Regions from separate parts of the Homo sapiens genome. Here all the other regions are linked to region 1. The links are contacts of gene promoters, found by promoter capture Hi-C in human tissues and cell types (Jung and others, 2019). All regions are on one chromosome and are shown on one strand. The core of a region is centred on a gene start or on the middle of the fragment in contact, and the rest is flanking DNA. Distances in the headings are between cores, read along the strand shown.

The links. Contacts are between HindIII fragments. The study calls those that stand out against the background at their distance.
Region 2: a fragment that was not itself captured here is called in contact with the fragment with the promoter of WDR7 in region 1 in 1 of the 25 tissues and cell types used here (dorsolateral prefrontal cortex).
Region 3: a fragment that was not itself captured here is called in contact with the fragment with the promoter of WDR7 in region 1 in 1 of the 25 tissues and cell types used here (dorsolateral prefrontal cortex).

What each region holds. Positions count from the first base shown.
Region 1 is chr18:56,649,376-56,653,758 of GRCh38, forward strand. It overlaps WDR7 (WD repeat domain 7), which reads left to right and starts at 1,984. Exons shown (of 28, transcript NM_015285.3): 1 at 1,984-2,201. RefSeq lists an enhancer at 1,715-2,104. The HindIII fragment of the contact is 8,093 bases long and covers 1,666-4,383 here.
Region 2 is chr18:55,445,090-55,449,472 of GRCh38, forward strand. The region is part of intron 5 of TCF4 (transcription factor 4); the gene reads right to left. Among named protein-coding and RNA genes, the nearest start is that of TCF4-AS1, 5.3 kb to the right of the region's middle. The HindIII fragment of the contact is 5,079 bases long and covers 1-4,383 here.
Region 3 is chr18:55,512,630-55,517,012 of GRCh38, forward strand. The region is part of intron 3 of TCF4 (transcription factor 4); the gene reads right to left. Among named protein-coding and RNA genes, the nearest start is that of MIR4529, 36 kb to the left of the region's middle. The HindIII fragment of the contact is 4,870 bases long and covers 1-4,383 here.

The sequences.
Region 1 (4,383 bases), core at 734-3,233:
GGGACCAGTCTGGCCAATAGAGTGAAACCCCATCTCTACTAAAAATAAAAAAAATTAGCCAGGTGTGATGGTGTGCACCTGCAATCCCAGCTACTCGGGAGGCCGAGGAAGGAGGATTGCGTGAACCCAGGAGGTGGATGTTGCAGTGAGCTGAGATGGTGCCATTGTACTCCAGCCTGGGTGACAGGGCAAGACTCCATCTCAAAAAATATATATATATATGCCTCTAAAATGGTGAAATTCCCGATTTTATCCTGTGGGTCTCATTTATGATTCTTTTGCAGTGATAACCATACATTTTTGGTTACAACAACAATGACGACATCTCACTTGTCTCCTTGCTTCCCTGTATTTCCCACCTGATTTACATGGCACATTGCTGCCAAATTAATATTTGTGGCTGGCCCATCTTAAGTGACCCCGATAAGTCACACTCTTGTATAATCCTTTCTCCTTGAGTACAGATAAAACCCGTGACTTACTTTAACCAATAATATATGGCAAAGGTGATGGCTGTCACTCCCTAATTTAGGTTATCATCTACATCCATTTCCATATCTATGTCCATGTCCATATCCATGGCTGTATCTATATCTGTGTGACTCCTTTCTTGTGCTCAGTAGAGAGATTCTCCTTGCTAGCTTTGAAGGAGTATGCTGCCATGTTGCGAGAGAGCCTTTAGTAAGGCCCATGTGGTAAGGAACTGTGGGTGGCTGCTAGGACCTGATGGCCACTTCCAGTTCAGAGCCAGTAAGAAGCCAGGGCCCCTAGTCAGACAGCCACAAGGAACTGAATGAGCTGACAGGAGTTTGGAATCAGATTCTTCCCTAGTTGAGCCTCCAGATGAGAATTGCAGTTTGGCTGACATCCACTTGTAGCCTTGTGAGAGCATGAGCACAGGACTCAGCTAACCTGTTCCTGACCTCCTTGCCCATGGAATGTGAGGCAATACATATGTGTTGCTTTAAGCCACTAAGACACTAAGACTGTGATAATTTGTTGTAAAGCAATTTTAAAAACCTGAATACCATGTGGTTAGGAAAAGTGCTACACTATTTATTAGTCAAAAGTCTTCAATTACTTTTCATTGTCTTTGGAATAAAGACCAAAAAGCTTATATGGCCACTAAAAGCCTCTTGTTATCTACATTATTCTATTTTTCCATGTTACTTTTTTATTACCTGGTCTAGGCCGAATGTGATGAAGTCTCTATCAACCCACAAGAGAGCTCCAGGGCATAGACTGCCTGTTAAAGGAGCCGCTCACGGAGCAGAAACAGCTAAGCCCTGATACCACATTTTCCCACTTCACCTACTTCACGTCCCTTGTATTTCTTCCAAATTTAACTTTCTATTTATTGCATATATTCATGTTTTACATTTCAATGCTGGTGACAAAGTTGTTTTCCTTTCCCAATTATTATTCCAAATCTGACCAATTTTTCTAGACTTCCATATGACCTAATGTGATTATCCTTCCTTACCCCAACCTAGAAATAATTCATCTCTTTTCTTCCTTGCTCCTTATTTGGCATTTCTCATCCTGCACTATACTATAGCTTATCTATCTTGGGGGACATTTGTCATTCTTTTTAGCTTTCCAGCATCCAACATACTTTCCAGTGTTTAGGGAATTCCCTACCTCTTGCATCTCAGTGGGAAGCAGTGTGATGGGGTCAGAAGTGTAAACTTGCGCAACATCCTGCTCCCAAGAAAGACGTGCACTTGCTACTTCATCCTTCGCTCCATCTTGGTCCTCCCAACTGGAGAGAGGACAGCCTAGACGAGACTTCCCACAACCAAGATGGCGGCCGTGCACTCCTTGCCCACAGCTGGCCTTTTCTCCACTTTCGGTCTCCATCGTAACGCGGCTGGCTCTCTCGGCGCCGGCTTAGGCCTTGCAAGTAGGGAAATGGTGAGTCTTTCCCGCCCCCTCATTTTTGCGACAGTTGCAGCGAAAGTCACGGCAGTTGGGGCTGGTGTCAGCTGATTTACTGCAGTGGCGGCGGCGGCGGCACCGGCACCTTGCAGTATCACTGGGGAGACGGCGGCTGTATAGCGCTTGCCGCCCCACGGATTATCCCAGCAGGATCTACGCACCCCGCATCCTCCGTAGTTCCGCCCTATCCTTGTCCTCCTTGGCTGGGGCGCCCACCGGCGGTCTGATAGGCTACATCGCGGCATGAGATGAAGCTGTGACAGGTAAGGGGGCTTTCAAGCTTCTCCATGGGAAACCACAGGGCGGGATGTTCCTGCACCGTGGAGGTCAGGGGTCAGGGGTCAAAGGTCACAAACCCGCTCTAGCCGGGGGCGGTGCTAGCTGTCAGATCGCTGCGGCTGCAAGCCTGCAGGTCGGGCCCAAAAGTAGGCGCCGTTACCAAGAGCGTGGGGGCCAGCCGGGGGTCTTTGTGGCTCCCTTGCCTGGTGAGTGATATTTGCTACTTGTGACAGTTGCTTTGGTCTTGAGGTGGGACTGCCTGGTTCCCAGGTGCAATCTAAACGGGATCAGGTGATTGGTGATGATCGTTGGTGGTTATTGACAGCAATTTTGGGCGATGTGCTTGCTTTTGGGGTTCATATAGTCTTTCCTTTCCTGTTGGTACTATTTTTGCCCATGCCCAAGGTACTGACACCACTGTTAGAATTTCATTTTTGAGATGCCATCTGCCAGTTCTTATCCCTTTGCCCTAGTACTTGTCTGAGCGGATGCCAGTCACTCCCATTCACTTAGTGATGGGTCCCAGCGTTCTGAAGCTATGTTTGAAGTCAGCACTACCCTAACTTTGATTCAAAAATTGCTGTTTTATGTTTTTTACCCACTTAGTATGTCACTTTTTGAGGCAGAATTTGCTGGGTTAGATAGTCTGAAACTAGGGAACCTACCGTCGCATGACAGGCTGCATTGATATTGTTGATGCTGCTGAATTTAGGGTTCGGTCAGTGGCAGCTATAGCTTCCTCTCACTGTAATATTTGCCATGAGACAAAAAAAGGCAAACTGACTCTTTCAGGTGTTTATGTCTTAGGATTTTATGGGCAAGGTTGCAGGAATTGCCTGTTGTATGAAAGAAATTAACTGAGTTTTTGACATTTTGTAAAACAAAAATTTTAGTTTGACTCTGCTTCTTGCTTTATAAACAAACTCGTGGCTGTATGAAGGTCAGCTTAAAAGTGAACATAATGTGTTGAAATGCCCTCATTATTACAAAGAATAAAAAACTGTCTAGTTCCATCCAGAACAATACATATTAGTTATTATAAATTGGGAAAACGAACCACTATAAATATAATTAATGCTTTATTATTAATGTCAATTAGGGATTATGGTAGAAAATTCATTTATTTTACTGCCAATCCTTATTTTAAGAGTGTTTCAGAGAAATACTTTAAGAGAAAAATGAGAGTATGCCCTTTATTTTTTCTTATTGCCACCTGTAACTAAATTTTAAAAGATCTCGGTGACTGGGTGAATCAAAGGGACTGGGCTTGGCTTGGTTTGAATATCCCTGTAAGAATTTAACTTAAATTTTAGGGGTAGTGACCCTTGTATCTTACAGTTTCCTTTTATCTTTGATATATGTTCCGTTTTGAAGTTAAAGGAAGTTGGGTGGTTTCTCCATGTAACACACTTAGCATCGAAAATCTTCAAAGTAGTGAGCTTGTTTTGTGTTTTCTTCGTGAGAGGGGTAGGATGACATTTAGCTTTAGTGGTGTGATGTTTATTAGATGTATGAGTCCTTAAAGTTCATTTTGGACCTCAGGTGCAGAGGATGGAGTTAATCTTACTCAATTCAATGGGCTGTTCAAGGCATCTCCCCTGCCTGCATTTTTCGTTCTTCTTTTTTTTTTTTAGATGGAGTTTCGCTCTTATTGCCCAGGCTGGAGTGCAGTGGCGTGATCTCAGCTCACTGCAACCTCCCCATCCCGGGCTCAAGCGATTCTCCTGCCTCAGCCTCCTGACTAGCTTGGGATTACAGACTGTGCCACCATGCCTGGCTAATTTTTGTATTTTTAGTACACATGGGGTTTCACCATGTTGGTCAGGCTGGTCTCGAACTCCTGACCTCAGGTGATCCACCAGCCTTGGCCTCCCAAAGTGCTGGGATTACAGGTGTGAGCCACCACATCCAGTCTCATTCATTGTTTTTTGTTTCTAATTCCCGCTGTTTTCTCTTGCTCATCAACCCATATGCAACCATTCTGTATGATGTGTATTCTTCTGTTTGTATGTGTTATTAAATGTATATTGTTCTGGGTGCCCACATTTTTAATTTATAGAGATGATATCGTGCAGTTTTTTTGTCTCACTATTATGTTTTGAAGATCTATTGCATTGCTGTTCTTTGCTTCCAAGTGCTGCACAATATTTCAGAATGTACATCTAC
Region 2 (4,383 bases), core at 952-3,451, 1.2 Mb before region 1:
CTCCTATTCACAGTTGCTTGAGTGTCCTAAATCATAAATCATATCATGGTATCTCACTATTTAAAATCAATCCTTGAGTAGTTTACCACACGCTTCATTGAAAATCTGACATCTTCCACTCCTAAACACAAGAGACCCTTCATTTCTCTGGGGCCAGGATTGTATTCCAGCTTCACCTGTGTATTAGAGCATTTTTATACTGCTATGAAGAAATACCGGAGATGGTACAATTTATAGATTTTAATTATAATTTATAAATAATTATAATTTATAAAGAAAAGGGGGTTTAATGAACTCATAGTTTCACATGGCTGGGGAAGCCTCACAATCATGGTGGAAGGCGAAGAAGAAGCAAAAGCACGTCCTACATGGTGGGAGGCAAGATAGCATGTGCAGGCGAACTGGCCTTTATAAAACCATCAGATCTCGTGAGATGTATTCACTATCACAAGAACAGCATGGGAAAAACCCACCCCCCATGATTCAATTGCCTCCCACCAGGTCCTTCCCACAATATGTGGGGATTATGAGAGCTACAATTCAAGATGAGATTTGGGTGGGACACAGCCAAGCCATATCAACCTGTCATCCCTTCCTCTGTGGTACTACATCTCATAGTCATCTCACAGAATGACTTCAGTTCCAGTATTCCTATTACGTCTTCCAGCTCCCAAGGCTCTGCTCAAGCATCTCTACCAACTGGTAATTTTCTTTCCATCAGGATAGTTCTAACCAACTCACCTTTAAGATGAAGCTCAGGCATTACCACGTATATTATTAAGAAAATTCATGTTGATCCATACAATAGCCATTCCTAACTCCCTCCTCCCTTGCCTGTCTCTTGAGTCAGAGACCCAACCATGGCTCTAAGAGTTCACATTCCAAGCTTCCCTTGCAGCTATGAGTAGATGTCTGCTAGAGGTTTAGCCAATAAGTTGTTAGCAGAATCCTGCTCAAGGCCACCAGATTCTGGTAATGTTTTTCCCCCTTCCTGGATGGAATAGGATATATGTAAGGATAAATGTTACCCTAACCTCTGCCTCCCCTGCCTCCTTTAGGGGACTCTAATGTGCTGTGTGAGGCTCAAGAGCCAGCTTGCAAGAAAGAAATGCAAGAGGAGAGGAAAAAGCTGAAGAATGAAAATCAGCATGCTAAGGAGGGCAGAATGGGAAGAAAGAAACATTGATTTGCTGAACTCACACAGGCAACCTCCTGCCTCCAGACACCTCCTAAAATGAAGGGGAAAAACCCCTTTGTTTTACTAACCTACCATTGTTATCAGGTATTCTATTAGTTGCAGCTGAACCCATGTTTAGCTGCTATTCCACCTCTGGGAATTCTTTCTAAATTCTCTACAAAGGAGGCAATGCAGTGGTGGGTAAGGACAAGGCTTTAGAGTTCAGCAGATCTTGCTTCAAATCTGGATTCTGCCACTTACCAGCTACACAACACTGGGCAAATAACCTAATCTCTCTGATTCTCAATTGCCTCCTTTGTAAAATGGTAATGACAATGTCTAACAAAGAAGTTTATTATAAGGAGCAAGCAGGATAATATGTGTAAAGTACTTAGCAAGTGCCTGGTACACAGTGAGTACCCAAAAATCTTAGCCAGGCCAGGCGCGGTGACTCACGCCTGTAATCCCAGTACTTTGGGAGGCCGAGGCAGGCGGATCACTAGGTCAGGAGATGGAGACCATCCTGGCTAACACGGTGAAACCCTGTCTCTACTAAAAACACACAAAAAATTAGCTGGGCGTGGTGGTAGATGCCTGTAGTCCCAGATACTCAGGAGGCTAAGGCAGGAGAATGGCGTGAACCCAGGAGGTGGAGCTAGCAGTGAGCGGAGATCGCGCCACTGCATGCTAGCCTGGGGACAGAGCGAGACTCTGTCTCAAAAAAAAAAAAAAAAGGAAAAAAAGAAAAAAAAATCTTAGCCAAGCTGGACACAGTGGCTCACACTTGTAATCTTTGGGAGGCTAAGGCAGGATGACTGCTTGAGGCTAGAGGTTCCAGAGTAGCCTGTGCAACAGAGCGAGACCTTGTCTCTACAAAAAATAAAAATAGAAAAAATTAGCCAGGTGTGGTGGCACGTGCCCACAGTCCCTGCCACCAGGAGGCCAAGGAGGGAAGATCTTAAGCCCAGAAGTTTGAAGCTGCAGTAAGCACCCCTGCACTCCAGCCTGAAGGACGGGGTGAGACCGTCTCAAAAAAAAAAAAAAAATTAGACATTATTATGAGGAAGCTGATGGTGGAGTATCCCTGATATGTATGCAACAACACCCTGGGAACACATGGATTATTTCCCCAACTCTCTGAATTGTAATTATCTGATATCTACCTGATTCTTTTATTAGGATGTGGGCCAAGTTGAAAGCAAGAAAAGTAGCATGCCACTATCTAGTACCTAACATAGGGCTTGCAGATCACCAGCTTCCCAAAAGTACTTGCTGGGTGAATGACTGTACGAACCAAAGACTCATTTGAGTATTGAAGTTTATCATTTTGGGCAGCTTCTAGAATAAATGGAATTTATATAAATGGCTTTAAAAAATACATATACTGAGGACCATATGATTGCAGACATATCGATAACATGTTAATTTTATTTATCAAGCAGCCAATGAAACTTTTAAAGCAGTAAGATAGTCTGCTTTGCTTTCACAAATATATCATTTGCCCTTTCCCTCACTGCTGTAAGGGAGCACTTCCTCTATGTCTGAAAATGAAGACAGCTAAGATATGAAGTGTAAAAACTGCTTATGATACAACCAAAGCCAAAAACTGAACTTGGGATCTATGTTTCATCTTCTCTACCCCTTCCAACGTAGCCACTAGAAAAGGCTTTCGCTCTGAATATTTACTTGTGATGAACTTATAAAATGAACAACCCTATTGTTTTGTGGGGGGATGATATGGGGGGGGAGGTGGCTTCTTTGACAAGTAAACTGTATCTGAATATTAGAATGCACTAAAATATTGTTTCTATGCAGTGTTTTGCCACCTACAGTCAAACCCATACAAAATACTATTGTCTAGGAACGCTCTCTAAATGTGACTGCTAAAATGTCACCTAATCACAGTGACCATGGAAAATAATATTTGTTATAAAAACCAGTCCTCCTTTCATCATAAAGGTTTTTCACGTGTAGTGGGAGCACTTTATTTTTCTACAGGCGGGAATATTCCCTCACAGTAAGGAAAGGTGATCTGCTCTGATAAAACTTTAACAGGTGCTGAAATTTATATATTCTATTACAGCCTTACAAGCCTACACCAATTATTAATTATCCGCCTAAATGTATACTACTTTACACATCCTGCTCTTTAACTAGAACACTCAGAAAATCCATTGTACGTTGCCTGACTAACGGACCATGTCTTGAACGGCTAAATGGCCTAGCAAATGCAAAGATTTTCCCATATGTACACTTTACAGTGTTAATGTAGACCCACTGCCTACACAAACCAACTGCATTTCCACAACCACATTCCACCTTGAGGAACACAGGTGACTTAGGGGAGGCATCTATCTGTGGACAATATCAGCAGATTAGAGTCAGTTTATAGAGCAGCTTCTCTAAAGTGCTTGCAAGCAACATTACCGTGTAGTTACTACAGTTGTAGAGATAGTGAGTACTCTCTCTTATTCTGCTCTGTGAATATTTCAAAGAAGTCACATAGAGGCTTTTTATGCCAGAGCAGGTGTGAACTCAATTCCACTCTTAAACTAGTATCAGCTCAGCTGAGAGAACAGCCGTAAATTTTTATTTCAGAACCAAATGAAACTCATGAGGGTAAGGGGCAAAATCTCATTAACTATTAAAATGTCTTGAAAAGACTGGGAGAAGGCAGCTTCTTTTATTCTCAATTGGTGTTCAAACTATACCTACGACTTTGCGAAAAATGGAAAATGTAATCACACAAAAGTATGTCTATTTAGAACTGTTTTATTTCAGGAGAAACAAAAAAATTCAGAGAGCTCTCCCACCCTCTCCTGGCCACATCTCCATGAGTTAGGTCAGTAACAGAAGCAAGGAAACTGAGATTAAAATGAAAAACAGCTTGTTCAAAATCACACAAAGATCATTTCGTAAACTATTGTGTACCAGGTTGGGTTTTTTTTTCCTGGTTTTTCTCTAGCTAACAGGGATCATCCACAGCTACTGAGGCGGTCTGCCAAGATATTTAAGATCTGTGCTCACTGCATCTCAATTTCCAAATAATATTTGTAAGACCATCAATAAATAAGGAAAAAAACTTAAGCATGAAAAAACATACACACCATATAAAGTATGAATTTAATCCTGTCAGTAGACCAATTGTTAAAGCTTTCAAAAACACGGATATTAGGCTCATTTCCAATTACTCTGAAAGTTCTGAA
Region 3 (4,383 bases), core at 1,182-3,681, 1.1 Mb before region 1:
TAGTCTATTATTAAGAATTTATCAAAATCGAGTGGGAGTGGTATATATAGATGAGCCAAGAAGGCAGAATGCTGGTAAATATTGAAACTGTATGATGGTGACACAGAAGATTATTCTACTACTGTGTATACATTGCATGTGTTTAAAAATTTTTCAAAATAAAAAGTTAAAAAAATAATTAAAAGGCAAGAAAAAATACAGTAGCATCATAAGATCAACCTTGAAAGAAATACTGGTACTTCTGAATGAATAGCTAGTAAGATTTCAATAGGCAAAGTAAGTGCTTAAGGGTAGCAGGCAGGATACTGAGCAAATAACACTGAAGAAAGGCAATGACCTTCAGGATCAGGCCAGTGAATAACTGGTAACAAACTCATGGTATCTTACTGCTCCTTCTAGTATTAGATGAAATCCCCTGATAGAAGATAAAGGGGCACCATCTTTTGGATTTCTGTCAGGGTGTAATTCTCCTAATAAGTGGGCATTTCACCTATGCAAATCTTCACCTGGCATGAAGACGATAAAACAGCGTCACTGACTAGTGCTGACTTCAGGTCCCACCCTTGGTCACTGAAGGAAAACTATTCCTTTTACTGGACAGTGATTTCTGCATAATTCCCATGGGTTCTTTATTCTCACTGGACAAAACCTCTCTGAGATCTAGGCATGATGAAGAGTGGAAAACAAAGAGCTCATTTTTAAAACCCTCTACTCATGTCTTATCATTCCTAGCCCTCAGCTTTTTTTTTTTTTTTTACATCAATAGCCCATCTCCATATAAATGTCTAATTTTGCAACACTTTAGGTGCCACAATGACTGTGTGAATGAGTCAGAATATGCATTACCAAATAGTGAAAGAGTGTAGTTTTCCTAACCAATATCTATTTTTGAAAAAAAAATTTTAAAAGCACATTGCTTCTTATAATTTTTCCATAAATATCTAACTACTCTCAAAGCTACCATTTAGACTACAAATGCATCCTTCAGTTTGTTAAAGAAAATTTCCATCACTTGCAACTATAAATTTGGAAAACGCAATAACCTTTAATGGCATACAGGATATGATTTTGCTTTCTCATATTTAAAAAAAAGCTGCTTATTCCTGAAGTAATTTTTCAGAACATATATAATTTGTTTTATAATTTTAAAGCTGATCCCCAATGTTTGATAATTCTCTATCTCTTCTTTCTCTGTGTTACAATCCCAAAATCTTTTAGTTCTCTTTGAAAATACATATGCATTAAAGTTTGAGGCCAGACAGCCAGCATATACTGGTAGTCTCTGTTAAGGCTAATTGAGTTATCATAAACATGCAAATCCCTTTGTATAGAGAAGCCTGGCTTTTCTTTGCCATCTAAGATGAAACTATAATCTATAAAGATAAGCAAAATCTATGTTCTTGATTTGCTTTGCATGTAAATTCTTTCACATAGATAAGCTCTTGACATGTATTCCTCTTCTGAAAGATCAAAGATCATTCTTCAAAAGCCAGGTTTCTCTCCTATCTTCCATCTCTTCTCAGATTTCTACTGTATCTTTTCCCCATGGCTAATGTTCTCTGAAGAGAACCAAATTAATGAACACTGACATTCTTCATACCTATTTTAATGGCATCCTGTGGTGACAATGCAATAACAGGACTATTGTGGCATCGAGCAACATGGTCTCCAAGTTTACTTCCTGACAGTGACTCAATCACTGAGCATGTGTTTGAAATATTATGCATTCATGCATGCACATGCACATCCATGAGCATACACACACATCTATCCATGCACACACACACACACACACACACACACACACACACACACACCCCAATCATACCTACCACCATGCTGGTCAGTACCCACAGCCAAGGAAAAGTAAAGGCCTAAAAACTAATCTAGAAGATGTAAACGTGGTAACAGTTAATTCAAATAAATCATTAAATATAAAAATTTAAAGAAATACACAGCTGCTGATTATCTCAATTCTTAAACTTTGTTCTTACAGGTTCATCACAATTAAAGCCTCTTCCAAGGTGAACTCTGCTCAGGGCAGCCGCAGCATTTGATTTTTTTTGGACAGAAGCTTTTGGTAAGTAAAAAGCAACCAATAAACTGAGGAAAAACATATGATTTAATAAAAGGAGCACACGTAAAAATATATGGATGCACAAAGCAATTGATGTATATTATTTACTCTTTTTTTACAATATTTATAGAATAGTACAATTTTTATATAATGCATACATCATCTGATTATGAATAATACATGTGTAATATATGGTTTATTACTATTAAAATTATTACCATATAATGGTAATTGAATTTGTGCCAGGCATAATGCTAAGCAATTAATAAACATGCTCATTTGATCCTGCCCCACTCTATAAAGACCTATAATATTACTTTCTTAAGGATGAAAATAACTTCAGCAAGATTAGGAAATTTGCCTAATTTCAGAGGAAAACACATAAACGTAAAGCCATAAGACAGTTACCTGTTCTTGTTCAGCCCTGTATCCCAACACTTAATGTAAAGATGGAGAAACAAAGTTAAAAGACCTAAGAAAGTCAGGCAAGTAGATGAGAGAGAAAAAAGTCAGAGAATCCAAGGTAGGAAAACAACCCAGAGTATAAAACTCACGGAAAAAAATGGCCTCACCAAGTTAAGTATGGTCACACTCATTTGTTCATTCATCAGGCATGTACTGAGTGTTGACTATGTTCTGGTCACTGAACTACGTGCAGACACATGGCTGGGGTGCAAGTTCTGAAGACATGATCCTGACCACTCCAAAAACTACAGTTCCGTCAGGAAGACTAAGCATCTCAGCAGCTGTGATTGCTGGCATATGCCCCAGCATACAAGAGGACAAGCTGGAGGGACAATCAGATCAGTCTTCTGTGTTAAGAAAAACTCCCATGAAGAGGTAGACATGAGCTGAGTTTTGAAAGAGAGTAGGAGGTATAGAAGAAGGCTGTGTTCCAAAGTCCAACGCTTCAAAGAGGTAAAGCAGTAGAAAGGTCAAAGCCAATCACACATGCTACTGATGACGTTTTGAGGTGGAATCTTCAGAGAGTGTTGTGGAAAGAAGCCAGATCATGGCACATTATATACAGAATGTCGTGTGAGAAAACTTGGCTTGAAAAGGACAGAACAAAATGAAGAGAAAAGTTAGTCTCAAAATTTGGAGGGGGGTGGGCGTATTTAAATTCATCTTTAAATTTAAAAATCCATCTTTAATTTTAAGATAGGAGAAATGAGCATATTAAAATGCTGAAGAGTCAGGAGAGAAGAGGAGGTTGGTGATTCCGGAGAAAGACTCCTGGTGAACATGCCCTTAGATGTAAGAGGATGAAGGTAACAGCTATTGAGACTAGCAAATATAGACTTGATTAAAAAGTCAGATTGGGTTTAAAAGAAGTTTCCAGAAAATGGTGGTGGTGGTGTGTATGTGATAAAAGACAAATTCCAAAGGTGTGTGTAACAGCGATCATTCAGTGATGACTTACGGAGACAGGGCTGTAGATGGAAAAGATGACTGGACGTGAGTTTGGAAGTCTTGTTTGTTTATTTTCTAACTGTTACCTTGAACAAGTCATTTAACCTCAACCTCAGTATCCCTGACTCTTAAACAGGGATGACAGTTCACTTAACTTTTTCTATGACATATCTGAAAGCACAGAAATTGGTTCATGGAAAATGCTCACTAAATCTTAGTTTGGTCTTATCTAAATCTAAAATAATATACTGTCTGGTTTTTTGGGTTTTTTTTTAAAGGTTTATAAGCAAAATGAAGGGAAAGCTACAGCTTCCCATTAGGTGAACCCAACCAGAAGACTGAGAGAACGAGAGAAAGGCAGTCTGATTATGCAACTGTAGAAGGTTAGCCTCTTGAGACACAGAGCAGGATGGAGAGTGATCCGGAGGCCTGGATGGAGAAAAACTAAGTAGGAAACACGATGGTGAGCATTAGAAGAGGAAATGACTGTAATCTTCAAGAGTGTGGTCAGGGAAGGCTTTCTGATATGACATTTGAGTGAAGAGAGAGATGAAGGACCCAACTATGGAGAACCTGAGTCAAGTGTTCCTAACAGAAAGGATAACAAATGTGAAGACCCTGAGGTGGGAGCTTGCATGGTGCATTTGCAGAACACTAAGAAAGAGTGTGGCTGGTGTAGAGTGGGAGAGAAAGCAAATGATATCACAGAGGTACCAGGGAAGCCACATACCATTTTAAGGTCTTTGGCTTTAACTAAATAAGGTGTAAGGTCAATGAAGTGTTCTGAGAAGAGGAGGAATAACATCTGAATTATGTTTTAAAGATCACTGCTCCATTAAAAAACAGACTAAGGTCAAGGGCTAAAGCAGGCAGTCCAGTTAGCAGACTATTAC